5 separate regions of the Homo sapiens genome follow, and regions 2, 3, 4 and 5 are each linked to region 1. Evidence: promoter capture Hi-C in 16 types of primary human blood cells and fetal thymus (Javierre and others, 2016). All regions are on one chromosome and are shown on one strand. The core of a region is centred on a gene start or on the middle of the fragment in contact, and the rest is flanking DNA. Distances in the headings are between cores, read along the strand shown. Region 1 holds the start of ALK (ALK receptor tyrosine kinase). Region 2 has its middle 20 kb from the start of TOGARAM2. Region 3 overlaps ALK (ALK receptor tyrosine kinase). Region 4 overlaps ALK (ALK receptor tyrosine kinase). Region 5 overlaps ALK (ALK receptor tyrosine kinase).

Region 1 (2,728 bases), core at 229-2,728:
ACCCTTCCTCCACCAAGATAGGAGCATATTTTCTTCTCGGGTGAGATAATTCTTTGCCCTGAAACTTGTAAAGTCAGTGTATCCAGTGTGACTTCCAGAGAGAGGGCAGATGCCTGTCAAATTAAGTGAGTTGCCAAACATAGAGCAGGAAGAAAGCCATTCCGAGAATCAATATTCCTTTGTTACTGGGTCTTCCACTTGCCAAGGCATTGCCACAAAGCTGGAAAGGCCCAGCTCCTAGGAGAACAGAGGTTCCACCTGGCCACTATCTCCTGTGGGGTGGTAGGCAAGTTACTGCGGCCCCCAGGAGCTCAGTGAGGGAGGTTCAATGTGACACTGTGCTCTGATCCTGTGAGAAAACTCCTGTGCTACCCGACAGGCCGTGAGCTCCAGAGAGGATCTTGCCTTATTCTTAGCTTCAACAGTCAGCCCAAGGCCTGACAACCAGCCTTTAAGAAGGAATCAAGGGGATTTGTGTGACCCAAAGATGGTAGTTTTGTCTGAGGATCTAGTGAACCACTTGTTATAAAAACAGCTATTATGAGTTCTGTGTTGGCAGCTCAGGAGAGACGAAAGGAAAGGGAGAGGAGAGGTACAGCCATTACAGGTGAGTAAAAAAGGCCTAAGGTTCTGAACCCTCATTCCCAAGATTGTGGGCAAACAATTAAATGCTCTGCAACTCAGTTTCTGCATCTGTAAATCTGGAATTAAAATGTTTGCCTTACAGAGACTAGGGGAGGTTACACATGTTCAGACACCATTCTGAGAAAACAGAGCGACTGACAGGGGTCTGAAAGGTATTTGTTGTAGCTGCAGAACAACTCTGCCAGACCAAGACCATCCATCCCTCTCTGCCCCCCTATTCCCAAATTCTCCTGTGTGGACGGCAGGACTCCTAAGCTCCCAGGAATGCATTCAAATAATAGATGGGTCAGAAAATATTCTGTCTCAGGGCCTTAATACAAGCTGTTCTCAGATTTGCCAGTGTCGCGCTGCCACCCTCTCCCCACTTCCTCCTCCCTTCCCACTCCCCCCTCCCTTCCCCTCTCCTCCAGTTTTATTCTGGAACCTGTTTTTCCGAAGTCGGACCCGTTTAATCTCTTAAATGTATAATTAGGGAGAGTGCTTGATTGCAAAGGCCTCTTCCAGTTCTCACATTTGCTCCCTTTCACACTGCAGAGAAATAGGGCAGGGAATCTAGAGGAGGGGAAGAACAAGAGACTGGAGAGGGAACAGAGGGAGGGTGGGGCGGGCTCACTCCTTTTCTCAATGAATGCCGAGGCCTCTGCAGATTTGCATAGGAGCCGATCGAGCCACGCCATTGGTTGGAGGGTGCGGGTGGGGCGGGGCGAGGCCGGACTGCGTGGGTCGGGCAGCAGCGCGGAGTTGGCTTGTGAGCCCCGCCCCCTCCGGGCCCCGCCCCCTCCCTGCGCGCGCTCGCGCGGCTCAGCCAGCTGCAAGTGGCGGGCGCCCAGGCAGATGCGATCCAGCGGCTCTGGGGGCGGCAGCGGTGGTAGCAGCTGGTACCTCCCGCCGCCTCTGTTCGGAGGGTCGCGGGGCACCGAGGTGCTTTCCGGCCGCCCTCTGGTCGGCCACCCAAAGCCGCGGGCGCTGATGATGGGTGAGGAGGGGGCGGCAAGATTTCGGGCGCCCCTGCCCTGAACGCCCTCAGCTGCTGCCGCCGGGGCCGCTCCAGTGCCTGCGAACTCTGAGGAGCCGAGGCGCCGGTGAGAGCAAGGACGCTGCAAACTTGCGCAGCGCGGGGGCTGGGATTCACGCCCAGAAGTTCAGCAGGCAGACAGTCCGAAGCCTTCCCGCAGCGGAGAGATAGCTTGAGGGTGCGCAAGACGGCAGCCTCCGCCCTCGGTTCCCGCCCAGACCGGGCAGAAGAGCTTGGAGGAGCCAAAAGGAACGCAAAAGGCGGCCAGGACAGCGTGCAGCAGCTGGGAGCCGCCGTTCTCAGCCTTAAAAGTTGCAGAGATTGGAGGCTGCCCCGAGAGGGGACAGACCCCAGCTCCGACTGCGGGGGGCAGGAGAGGACGGTACCCAACTGCCACCTCCCTTCAACCATAGTAGTTCCTCTGTACCGAGCGCAGCGAGCTACAGACGGGGGCGCGGCACTCGGCGCGGAGAGCGGGAGGCTCAAGGTCCCAGCCAGTGAGCCCAGTGTGCTTGAGTGTCTCTGGACTCGCCCCTGAGCTTCCAGGTCTGTTTCATTTAGACTCCTGCTCGCCTCCGTGCAGTTGGGGGAAAGCAAGAGACTTGCGCGCACGCACAGTCCTCTGGAGATCAGGTGGAAGGAGCCGCTGGGTACCAAGGACTGTTCAGAGCCTCTTCCCATCTCGGGGAGAGCGAAGGGTGAGGCTGGGCCCGGAGAGCAGTGTAAACGGCCTCCTCCGGCGGGATGGGAGCCATCGGGCTCCTGTGGCTCCTGCCGCTGCTGCTTTCCACGGCAGCTGTGGGCTCCGGGATGGGGACCGGCCAGCGCGCGGGCTCCCCAGCTGCGGGGCCGCCGCTGCAGCCCCGGGAGCCACTCAGCTACTCGCGCCTGCAGAGGAAGAGTCTGGCAGTTGACTTCGTGGTGCCCTCGCTCTTCCGTGTCTACGCCCGGGACCTACTGCTGCCACCATCCTCCTCGGAGCTGAAGGCTGGCAGGCCCGAGGCCCGCGGCTCGCTAGCTCTGGACTGCGCCCCGCTGCTCAGGTTGCTGGGGCCGGCGCCGGGGGTC
Region 2 (2,728 bases), core at 64-2,563, 960 kb after region 1:
GCCCAAGGTGGGTGCATTATGAGGTCAGGAGTTTGAGACCAGCCTCGCCAACATGCTGAAACTCCGTCTCTACCAAACATACAAAAATTAGCTGGGCATGGTGGCACATGCCTGTAATCTGAGCTACTTGGGAGGCTGAGGCAGGAGAATTGCTTGAACCCGGGAGATGGAGGTTACAGTGAGCCGAGATCATGACAGTGCACTCCAGCCTGGGTGACAGAGCGAGACTCTGTCTCAAAAAAAAAAAAAAACTATGTATGTATATATAGTGTATATAGCAATATCCGCAAATTCTCCAACTGTGAGACTTACGTGTCCCAAAAAGATGATATAAATCTTTCTCTTCCTTAATGATGATTTTTTTTAATTTCTGGAAGAATAATAGGCCCAACTTCCCTTCTGACTATAGTCATATTAAACAAGCAAATCCCATCAATGATAAATGTCACTACTGTAAAAACTACTTAAGTTGTAAGGAAATATTGTTTCAGAGACTTAAAGTAATTGTAGTTGGAGAAAAAACAAAGAGTATCTTTGTATGATGTTATTTATATGAAGCTGAAGCAAAGACACTTATTCCATAATGATAGAAAGTATATCACTGGTTTCCTCAGACTTGTGGAAAAGAGGGACATTTGGGATTAATTGGGAAGCTGCACAAGGGAATCTTTGGGATAACAGAAATCTTCTGTATCTGGATTGTGTTGTGACTATACAGGTGTAGACATTTGTTGAAACTCATTGACCTTTACACTTAAAATATTGTTATTGATTATAAATTACACCTCATGCCGGGTGCAGTGGCTCATGCCTGTAATCCCAGCACTTTGGGAGGCCAAGGCGGGCAGATCACTTGAGATCAGGAGTTCGAGACCAGCCTGGCCAACATGGTAAAACCCCATCTCTACTAAAATACAAAAATTAGCCGGGCATGGTGGCGGGCGCCTATAATCCCAGGTACTTGGGAGGCTGAGGTGGGAGAATCGCTTGAATCTAGGAGGCGGAGGTTGCTGTGAGCCGAGTTTGCGTTACTACACTCCAGCCTGGGTGGCAGAGTGAGAAAGATTCTGCCTCCAAAAAAATTAAAAATTAAATAATAAATTATACCTCAAAGCTTTTTTTAAACAAAAGCCTTTGTCTACTGCTCTGATGGCTGGGGCCAGTCTCTTGTCACTCTGGAAACTGAGGACACTTGGATTCTACCCAAGCCTCCAAGCAGTGGCATATCAGTCTCGGAGCTTCTAGCTGGTGATGTGCAGAGGGCCTCAGAGGACTCAGGACAGCAGGGTCAATTTTTTTGACCCTAGGCTGCTAACTCACTGACTAGAACTGAATCTGGTTCTCTTCAGTTTTGCACCAACTCTGCCAAGCCACTCTATCTTATACTAAACATCATACTCAAACCAAAAAAAAGAAAAAGAAAGACTTTGTCATTATCTTGCCTCTTGGTGTGTTCCGGTATGAAGTATACAGCATCACCTTTGATGTCTTGTCAAATCGAATCAAGCTTAAGACCTGTGCTGTTTCAGACCATAGCCACTAGCTACATGTGGCTATTTAAACGTAAATTAGTGAGAATGACATAAAATTAACAATTCTGTCACTCAGCCACATGGATACATGTTAGGTGCTCACTGGCCACCTGCGGTGAATGACTTCCATTTTGGACAGCACAGAGAACATTTCTGTCATCACAGAAAGTTGTACTGGGTAGTTCCGAGGTACAACTTCCAGATGATAGAAAATACAGAGGGTACAGGAATGAGTTAAACTCACTTAGGGAAATGATCTAATCCAGCATGTGGCTCATTCTGCAAGACAACTGGCCTGGTCTCCTCGGTGTGTGATTGTTACAGATAAAACTAAGGGGGCAAGAGGGTAAGAGACCGTTTTAGAGCAAAAGTAACTAAAGAAGACTTGACAAACAAACCCAGTGAGTGAGTGTGGATTGGATCCTGATTTGAAAAGAAACTGAATATTAACGTGCTGCTGCTACACTCCAGCCTGGGTGACAGAGTGAGCAAGATTCTGCCTCAAAAAAAATTAAAAATTAAATAATATTAAATAATTAGACAGGAGGATGGTATTAGGGGATTACGGTTTGGAGCTTCAGAGATATAAGAATGGTATTGTAGTTATTGCAGGAGTCATAATCTGTAGGCACGTCACCCTGAAGTAGTTAAGAATAAAGTGTGATGATGCCTTCAGTTTACTTTCTAGTAGATCAGCAAAAATAAATATATGCACACAAATACAGATGAAGAAAAATATAGCCAAATATAGTCATGGACTGCATAATGACATTTTGGTCAATGTTGGACCACATATACAACGGTGGTCCCATAAGATTATAATACAATAGCGTATTACTTGGCTTTTTCTATGTTTAGATACACACATCTCTCTGTGTTCCAACTGCCTACAGTACTCAGTCCAGGAACATGCTGTCCAGGTTTGTAGCCTAGAAACAATGTAGGCTACATAAGATAGCCCACATGTGTAGCGGGCTGTGCCGCCCAGGTTTATGTCAGTGCACTCTTTGATTCTCACAATGACACAATTTCACCTAACAACATCTTTCAGAACATATCCCCGTTGTTAAGGGTCATATGACTATATCAACAGTGTTTTACTTTAAGTGGCGTGTATATACAGATCATCATACTATTCTTTTTTTTCTTTTTTTTGAGCCAGAGTCTCACTCTGTCGCCCAGGCTGGAGTGCAGTG
Region 3 (2,728 bases), core at 147-2,646, 680 kb after region 1:
GTCAGGAACAAACAACGTCTAAAATATAATAATTTGGCTAAATTTAAACATACGAAAGAGTTCAGAATGATTCATAATGCATGGTTGATGCAAATGACTATGCAAATGATGCCAAAAGGAATGGGCAGCATGACGCTTACCTCTCAACCACAGCAGGAGTGGGTAGGATGAGGACTTTGTCCTGGGCTGAAGTTTTCCAAGCAAACCACATCTTCAGGTGGAGATGACTTTTTTATGCAGCCTGACCAGGACTCAGAAACCTGGGGCAGTGAGCAGGACAGAGTTGGGGCCCATCCACACTGCTGTCCCTAGACTACAGGAAGCCGCCACATCGTCCCCTGCCCAGGTTCACTGAGCTAAATAATGCTGCTTCCTCTTACCTTTCACCAATAAGCCTTCCTTTTTCTCAGCCTTTTAATTATTGTTATCACCTTGTCCATTTCTCATGGATCAGGAGGGAGTGTTTGGCTGAGAGTCTGGGAATTAGGAGGGGCAAATAGCTTCTCAGACCCCTCTCTTTGTGCATCCCAGCAGCACATTGGGGAGGAAATGACCTCTAAGAGGGGATGTGCAAGGGTTTGGACCATAGCCAGCCACTGACTGGCTGTGTGGCCTCAGATGAGTTACTTAGTCCCTCTGAGCCTCAGTTTCCTCATTTGTCAAATGAGATTAATAACATTTGCCGTTTATGGCTATTGGGTGATGCCGTGTGCCTGTGAGCATGCATTGTGCCTGGCACATTGGAGGATGCTGGTAATCAGCCCACAGCCCTCTCCAAACCTACAGCCCTCAGCTTCCCCCTCCATCCACCTGCTGCAGCCAGACATACTTGAGGCTCCCTGCTTCTTCACTTCCGTTCACACAAGCCCCAATTCCCACCACCTCTTTCTGCTTGTCTCAGAGCCCTACCCATCTGCAAGCTCCATGTGAAGCCAACATCAGCCTTCCTCACCCCATCACCACACCCCACAACCACCTGTCGCAATCCCCCATCTCCCTCCTGGCCCTAAGCACCTGACGACCCTTATTTTGGCCAGAGATTTGCAGCTTCCCCGGGGCTTTCACCCATGAGCTCCTTTTGTTGGACTATCATGTTGTTTGGAATGAAAATGATTCTTCTCTTACTAGGAAAGGGGCTGGGGCTCAGAGAGGGCACAGGGGCAGGAAATGGCCCCACCTGATCAGGGAGCCCGGGAGCACTCCACTTTGCCTCCTCAACATAGCCACCCTATGGTGAGACTTCTCTTTTCATCATGAAGATCGTCTCCTCAGTTTCTTTGTGAGCTCTTGAAGAGCCTGGAGCTATCTCAGGTTCACAACGCCTTACACCGCTCCCAACATTCAATAAACTCCCATCAATGCCCAGGCACTCACCAGGGCAATGGGCACTAGATTCTCCATTTGCATTCCATGAAGACCTCAGTTCCTTGCCTGCCATGTTCGCAAACAGCCTCTGCAGAAGGGCCGTGGGCTCTGCCTTGTGAGAGCTCCGGGAGGCCCCTCACACACTTGGAAGAAGGGACATTTCCTGGAACTGTAGATAAAGGAGCTACTATGTGCACATGGGCAAAACTGCCTTGCATCTCTTCCTGGTTTTTTGTAAAAGACCTTGGATCTGAATACACATGGATGTGAAAGTCTGCCGAGTCCCATACCCTGGCAGCTGGTCCCTGGGGACACATTTGTTAGCTGGTGCGTTAGCTGTCTTCAAGACATGCCGCTCTTCTGATATGGTTCAGAAGAGAGTTCTTTTCTCCCCATCCTTGCTTGACTTCATTGCAGCAACCTAAGAGGCAGCAGAAATCATCTCCCATCCCCACACTCTGTTTTTATTTTCATCATGATGGGTTGTTTGTTTGCACACATATTTCTCCAGGAGGAGTTACCAGTGAGATGGGAATAGACAGTCGGCTCATATACACTGCTCTCCTCAGTCATTCTGTGAGGAACCTCCTTGTTTCCAGACCCCATGGGGAGACTTTACAACTTTGTACCAAGTCAATTATGGCTACTACCGTCATTAATAATAATAATAATTAACTAATACTAATTGAGTGCTTATTACATGTCAGCCACAATTCTAAGACCACATGTCTTAATTTCTTTAATCCTCATAGCACATGTAGGCTAGGAGGCAAGTTCACTTATTATCCCCATAGTATAGATGAGGAATAGGGAAGTTACTTGTCTAAGGTCACATGAGTCCATTGATCTGGGACAAGGAGAGAAAACCATAATGAGGAAATCCTAGGTATTCAGAAAGCCATCACCCCAATATGCCACATTCATATAGTCTCCTCTCTCTCTCTCTCTCTCTCTCTCTCTCTGCTGTTTCCCTCTCTCTCTCCCCTCCTTCTCTCCCTTCTTCCCTCCCTCCTCCCTGCCCTTTTCCTCTCTTTCTCTCTTGCACCCTTTACTAGTCTTTCACCTTCTTAGTTCTGTGACTGAGGCAACTCCCTGTCCCTCTCTAAACTTGATCGTCCTTTCCTGAAGTGGGGGAGAAGAATCCCTTTCTGCAGGGACTGATATGGGGGAGAACCCTCAGACCACGATGGCGATGTGCTTAGCCCACTGGAAGCTGCTGGGTTGGCAGGAAGGGGGACAGTCTTCATACCACAGCGGGAGCCAACGTTCTTTGTCCCATTGCAGCATCTCGGGCTACGGAGCTGCTGGCGGGAAAGGCGGGAAGAACACCATGATGCGGTCCCACGGCGTGTCTGTGCTGGGC
Region 4 (2,728 bases), core at 171-2,670, 660 kb after region 1:
GCATGTATGTGTATAAGCACACACATGTGTGTACCTGTGCATGCACATACACGCAAATAAATTCGGTCTGAGAAACAAGCTGGAAGAACAGCATGGAAAATTCATCAACTGAAAACAGTTCGTGTTGTAGAAAGAGGGAAGGTGATGTGCCCCTCCTCACTTAGCCCCAGGTTTACTTTGCAATCACTGGCCAATTGCTTAACTTTTCTACATGATTGCATGACTTATGAGACAAAAGTCACAGTTCTTCTCCCTTCCCTATCTACTGACCTATCGTGGTTGTAAGGAGCTAGGCTTACTGGAGGAGAAATGTACCATAAATTGTCCATTGAAATTGAAGGCCTCAACATTCTCAACCCTGTTCATTCAGAATCATGATACCATCCTTTTATCTGAAGTTAGACTTCCAATACCTTCCACCATCCACCAAATATAAATGCCAAAATATAAATACGTTCCAAAACTGTGACATAAAGATTTTCTGCAGTTAACTGCCCCTTAGCCTGATACATGAAGAGGGGTAGGGCCACTCTCATGCCCTCACCTGATCTTAGAGGTAAAGTAAGATTAAACACGGGTGGACATGCTGCAGTACCGAGAGACACCTGCCAGCAGAGACAGAGTCACTATAAAATATTTATGCCTGAGGCCATTTAGTGAAGAGTCAAATAGCCCTAAACAACTCATTAAGTCTGGGAAGCACTATCAAGAAAAGGTTAAATTATACTTAGTGAGCTGTATCGAAAATAGGCAGAGCATAATGAAACGGCAGGTTCTAGACCATGGTCATTGGAGATGTCCCTGAGGTGAAATCTGAAAAAACAAACCTGCAGCCCAGGAAGAGAAATGCAGGTGAGGGCTCTGACCAGATAAATGGCATACAGGGGCTCACCATAGCAAATGAGCTCAAATGATTTCTACATTTAAAAAATGTTTCTAGGATTCTGGGAAGAGGGCAGTGATGGTGGTAACAGCATAGTTTTTTTTTTTTAATCTTTCCAAATCCCTACATAAGCACAGAACACCCATATATCAAAACTGAAAACCCATGAACAATATTGACAGCAAAATTTGAAAATAAGGCATTCCCCTAAAACTTCAAAATGCAAGTGAGATAGGTCAAAGCACCAACAACCACAAGACCTGCATGGTATCAGCATCTGTACAAGATATAAGACAGGAAAGAAACAGGCCTGAGAACAGGAGAACCCCTAAGTAGCCAAGAGATAGTTGCTAGAAATTACAGAAAGCCAGTCTGAGAGCAGCTTCTGAAAGTGGGAGCGGCTTTGCCCAGTGCAGGGGACCAGGAGTACCACAGTCAGATCTGAAGGCGCTGGAGCAGCCTGGCCAGCAAACGTCATTGCAGGAAAGGGCCCACTTGGAGAAGAAAGTTCTGGGGATAAAATCAATATTGAGTAGGAAAGGGATAATAGAGAATAAATAAGAGAATGTCCAGATAAAAGTGAAGGAAAGAAACAGTCAGAAACCTCAGAAAGCAAACTGCGTTTTTTTGTTGTTGTTTTTTTTTTTGTTTTGTTTTGTTTTTGAGGCAGAGTCTCCCTCTGTCACCCAAGCTGGAGTGCAGTGGCATGATCTGAGCTCGCTGCAACCTCAGCCTCCTGGCTTCAGGTGATTCACCTGCCTCAGCCTCCCAAGTAGCTGGGACATAGGCACCCACCACCATACCTGGCTAATATTTGTATTTTCAGTAGAGACGGTTTTACCACGTTGGCCAGTCTGGTCTTGAACTCCTGACCTCAGGTGATCCACCTGCCTCAGCCTCCCAAAGTGCTGGGATTACAGGCATGAGTCACCACACCTGGCCAAACTGCCATATTTTTGAACACTGTATTAAAAAAAGGAGTAGAGGGAGTTCTGTGAAATAAAAAAGCTCCTGAACCCTAAAAATCCAGGAAAACTAATCTCACATAAAAATACATAACAGAAGAGCATCAAGATCAAATATCATTCAAAATTAAAATAAGAAAACAAAAACAGGATACAGAGGGCGGAATAACACGCCTACAGAAAGCAAAATCATGCCAGAAAGACGTGCTTATTGGATGAGTCAGAATCTAACCTTCTGTTTTAAAATGAGCTAAAAGACACAAAAACAATAATACAAGACATGAAAAATAACGTAAGTCATTGTAAGAAAAACAGAAATGTGGTGCTAGAACTCAGCAAAGAATTTGCAATAAAAGAAAAACTATTTTCAAAAATGAAGGCTAATCTATTAAGGGAAGGAACAAAAAGCCAACAAACACAACAGTTTATGCCTTATAAGAAATAGAAGTTAAAAAGAGGAAATTTTTTAAAATGAAAAAGATGACACACATCAAAGACTCTATTTTCTTGTTATATAAAGTGTTGCTGTCAAAAACTCTGATAATTCTAAATTTCCTTCTCTAATAAGTCATTTGCTATTTTGCTTAGGTGCCCAAAGTATTTTTTTCTTTTTATTTTAAAGTCCGGCAACTTTACTAGAATATACATGAAGATCCAACATAGAAATAATTGAAAGACCTGACGAAGAAAACCGAATAACTAGAACAAAACAAAATACTTAAAAGTATAACTCCAGGAAAATATCCTTATTGAAGCTACTTGTTAAAAGAGCACACTGTATACCTAAGAATATTAACCCAGAATGAGCGGTACCAATGTGTATTCTAGTAAAATTGCTGGACTTTAAATAGAAAGAAAAAAATTACTTTGGACACCTAAG
Region 5 (2,728 bases), core at 101-2,600, 600 kb after region 1:
ATGGCATGAACCCGGGAGGCGGAGCTTGCAGTGAGCCAAGATCGCGCCACTGCACTCCGGTCTGAGCTACAGAGCAAGACTCTGTCTCAAAAAAAAAAAAAAAGAAATTGTTGACAGGTGGGCTTTCTTCTCCATTGCAGGCCAGAAACCTGTTTCCTCAAAGATATCCCTAGGCTAGATAAGAACTGTGCACAGTCCATTAACCCTGCACCCCTGGTCCCCCAGTTCCTGATAATGGCGTGCTTGTGATTCTTTTCCTCTCTCCTAGACCATGCTCTATTGCTCAGTACCACTGATGTCCCCGCTTCTGAAAGTGCTACAGTGACCAGTGCTACGTTTCCTGCACCGATCAAGAGCTCTCCATGTGAGGCAAGTCTCCTTGTTTCTCTAGTTCTCTAATTTCTCCTCCCACCTCTTGTCACTTCCGGAACCCAGATTAAGAAAGTAGCCTAGCTGGCTGGGCTGGTCGTTCTCCTGGGGAGAGAACAAGAGGGCCACCTCTGCCATCTTCGAGGCAGAGCATGTCCATCAACATGGTAAAGCCCTATCTACAGAGAATCATGCCTTAAACAGCCATACCCAGCTGCACTGAACTACTTGCAGTAGAACCATGATTTAATCAAACCCAGAAGAGATTTTCCATGGCATAACAAGGGAGAGTGACAAGGATTGCAAAAGACTTTCTACAGAATCCTTTTTAAAAACATTGAGCTCTTGTAATACATTGTAAATACTATACATCCTCAAAAATTTGATTTACATAAATTTCACTAAGACATCAATGGCATTCAGTGAGGTACCTCCAAAACTACTCTCTCAAATGGTTCCTGATGCTGTTATCTCATTGGTGTGGGTGGAGGGACTGGCGCCCTGTTCCTTAGCATACAGTCATATTCTTTAGGGGCCAAGAAATGTACTTAAGACCCCAGCATGGTACAGTGATTAAGCTCATGGACTCTAGAATCAAATTTCTGAGTCCAAGTCGGGTTCCACCACTGATTGATTGTATAGTTTGTTTGGGCAGTTAATTAACCTCTTGGGGCTTCAGTTTCCTCACTGGGAAAGTGAACACATTTATAGTGCCTATCCTGAAGAGTGAGGATTAAATAGATAATGTCCAAAGGGCTTGGAAGAGCATTGGGCACAAAGTAAGCACTGCAGTATTTAGCCCACAGGGTGCCTGGCACACTGTATCAACATTCAGAAGGACACTGGGGGAAGAGGAAGAGAACTTGAGCCAGAAATCAGACTGTAAGCTCCAAGAGAGCAGGCCATGTCTTGTGCTTCTTTGTACTCCCTCACTGCACCTGCATCAACATCTTGCGTGTAGTAGAAAACCTACACGTAGTTTGGGTTTGGCCAGTCATCTCGTTCTGGACACTCACAGGAGAAATTCCTGTCTGGCTCAGTTTCAGGAATAGCTATGCACCCTCTGAGCAATTTGTTTCCTGTCAAGTTGTAGACATTGTGAAACTGACCAGATTCACTTCTCCTTCTGTGGCTAATAGAAATCCCAGGGTGGTGGTTCTGTGGCCAGCAGAGGGACAGACAACAGGATTGCCCCTGCTAAGGGATGCAGGCAGAATCAAGCCCCTCGAGTTTCTCATAAAATAAAAACTCACAGACAGAAAACAAATAAGAATGGAAAAGATGTAGAAATGATTTTTTAATCCGAGGAGTGGTTAAATTAAAACCAAGGCTCCACTTGGCAAGCAAATGGGACTTTGTGATATGCAATTTGTAGCAGCTTACTCCTGGTTTGATTTTATAACTCGACATTCGCCACTTCCTTCTCACCCTCTTCTAGGCTATGCTATCCTACTAGATTTTATGTATCTCTGTGAACCACCTTAAATCCTTTTTGGAAGAATTCTGAGCACAAATAAATAGATTCATTAAATTAAATTGTGTTTGAGAAACCATGCTATCTCATGCAGATGGTGGAATTACACAGTCATTGCTGATATTTCTCAGGTGTCTGAGAGCAGGTACCTAGAAAGGAAGGCTTTTTGAGAGAACATATAAATGAAGACAGATGGTTGGCCCACCGGAGAGGACGGGAGGATCCTTAAGAGCATTTGGTCTTTAAATTTACTCTTCGCTGGGTTTAATATGAGCCAAATTTCAGAAAAAGAAATGTCAAGGTACAAATGATATTATTCTAATACTTCATCATTTCTCTAATAACCTTTGAGTTGATCAATAGCTTAAACAGGTGTTTCGTTTTACTGGCCTGTTTTATTTTTCCTGCAGTCTAATTTGCTCTGGGCTGTTTCTGCTATTCCCTGCCCTTTTCCAGAACTTGGCTCAGCAGGCATAATGAAAGGAAGGGAATAAGTCCATTCCACACTCACATTATTTATATTTATATATATTCATATGATTTCACATTCAGGTTTTCAGACCATTTGTCTAATGCTGATGGGTCTTTGAATTCCCAATGTTGGGAGAAATGTTTTTATCAGGAAAATAAATAACCAAAATAGAAATATGCATTTCTAGATTTGTAAGCCCTACCATTTATTTTATGTGAATCCTAAATGCAGAATGCAGGAAGTTGATTTCCTCCTCCCGGGCGGGCTAAACCCCAGTGGCAGAAAAAAATGGATATTGCATTTCTCTGGGGGACTATGTGAGGTTCACTCAGGGCTTTCAAACCCCACCAACCCTACAGGGGCCTCTGTTGCCTATGGGGCCCGAGTGCAGAAAGATGGACACTAGGCAGAGT

What was found. Contacts are between HindIII fragments. The CHiCAGO score rates a contact against its expected background, and 5 or more counts as called.
Region 2: a contact is called between a fragment that was not itself captured here and the fragment with the promoter of ALK in region 1, in 2 of 17 cell types (endothelial precursors and megakaryocytes). The highest score is 8.4, in endothelial precursors.
Region 3: a contact is called between a fragment that was not itself captured here and the fragment with the promoter of ALK in region 1, in 2 of 17 cell types (M0 macrophages and M1 macrophages). The highest score is 7.2, in M0 macrophages.
Region 4: a fragment that was not itself captured here is called in contact with the fragment with the promoter of ALK in region 1 in 1 of 17 cell types (M1 macrophages); the score reaches 6.8 in M1 macrophages.
Region 5: a fragment that was not itself captured here is called in contact with the fragment with the promoter of ALK in region 1 in 1 of 17 cell types (M0 macrophages); the score reaches 5.1 in M0 macrophages.

The regions. Positions count from the first base shown.
Region 1 is chr2:29,920,336-29,923,063 of GRCh38, reverse strand. It overlaps ALK (ALK receptor tyrosine kinase), which reads left to right and starts at 1,478. Exons shown (of 29, transcript NM_004304.5): 1 at 1,478-2,728. The coding sequence starts at 2,405. The HindIII fragment of the contact is 5,353 bases long and covers 1-2,728 here.
Region 2 is chr2:28,959,702-28,962,429 of GRCh38, reverse strand. It overlaps a transcript of TOGARAM2 not described here. Among named protein-coding and RNA genes, the nearest start is that of TOGARAM2, 20 kb to the left of the region's middle. The HindIII fragment of the contact is 393 bases long and covers 1,117-1,509 here.
Region 3 is chr2:29,239,752-29,242,479 of GRCh38, reverse strand. It overlaps ALK (ALK receptor tyrosine kinase), which reads left to right. Exons shown (of 29, transcript NM_004304.5): 13 at 2,650-2,728. Among named protein-coding and RNA genes, the nearest start is that of CLIP4, 130 kb to the right of the region's middle. The HindIII fragment of the contact is 3,930 bases long and covers 1-2,728 here.
Region 4 is chr2:29,259,652-29,262,379 of GRCh38, reverse strand. All of the region lies in intron 11 of ALK (ALK receptor tyrosine kinase), which reads left to right. Among named protein-coding and RNA genes, the nearest start is that of CLIP4, 150 kb to the right of the region's middle. The HindIII fragment of the contact is 2,997 bases long and covers 1-2,728 here.
Region 5 is chr2:29,315,945-29,318,672 of GRCh38, reverse strand. ALK (ALK receptor tyrosine kinase) reads left to right here. Exons shown (of 29, transcript NM_004304.5): 8 at 269-369. Among named protein-coding and RNA genes, the nearest start is that of CLIP4, 200 kb to the right of the region's middle. The HindIII fragment of the contact is 6,615 bases long and covers 1-2,728 here.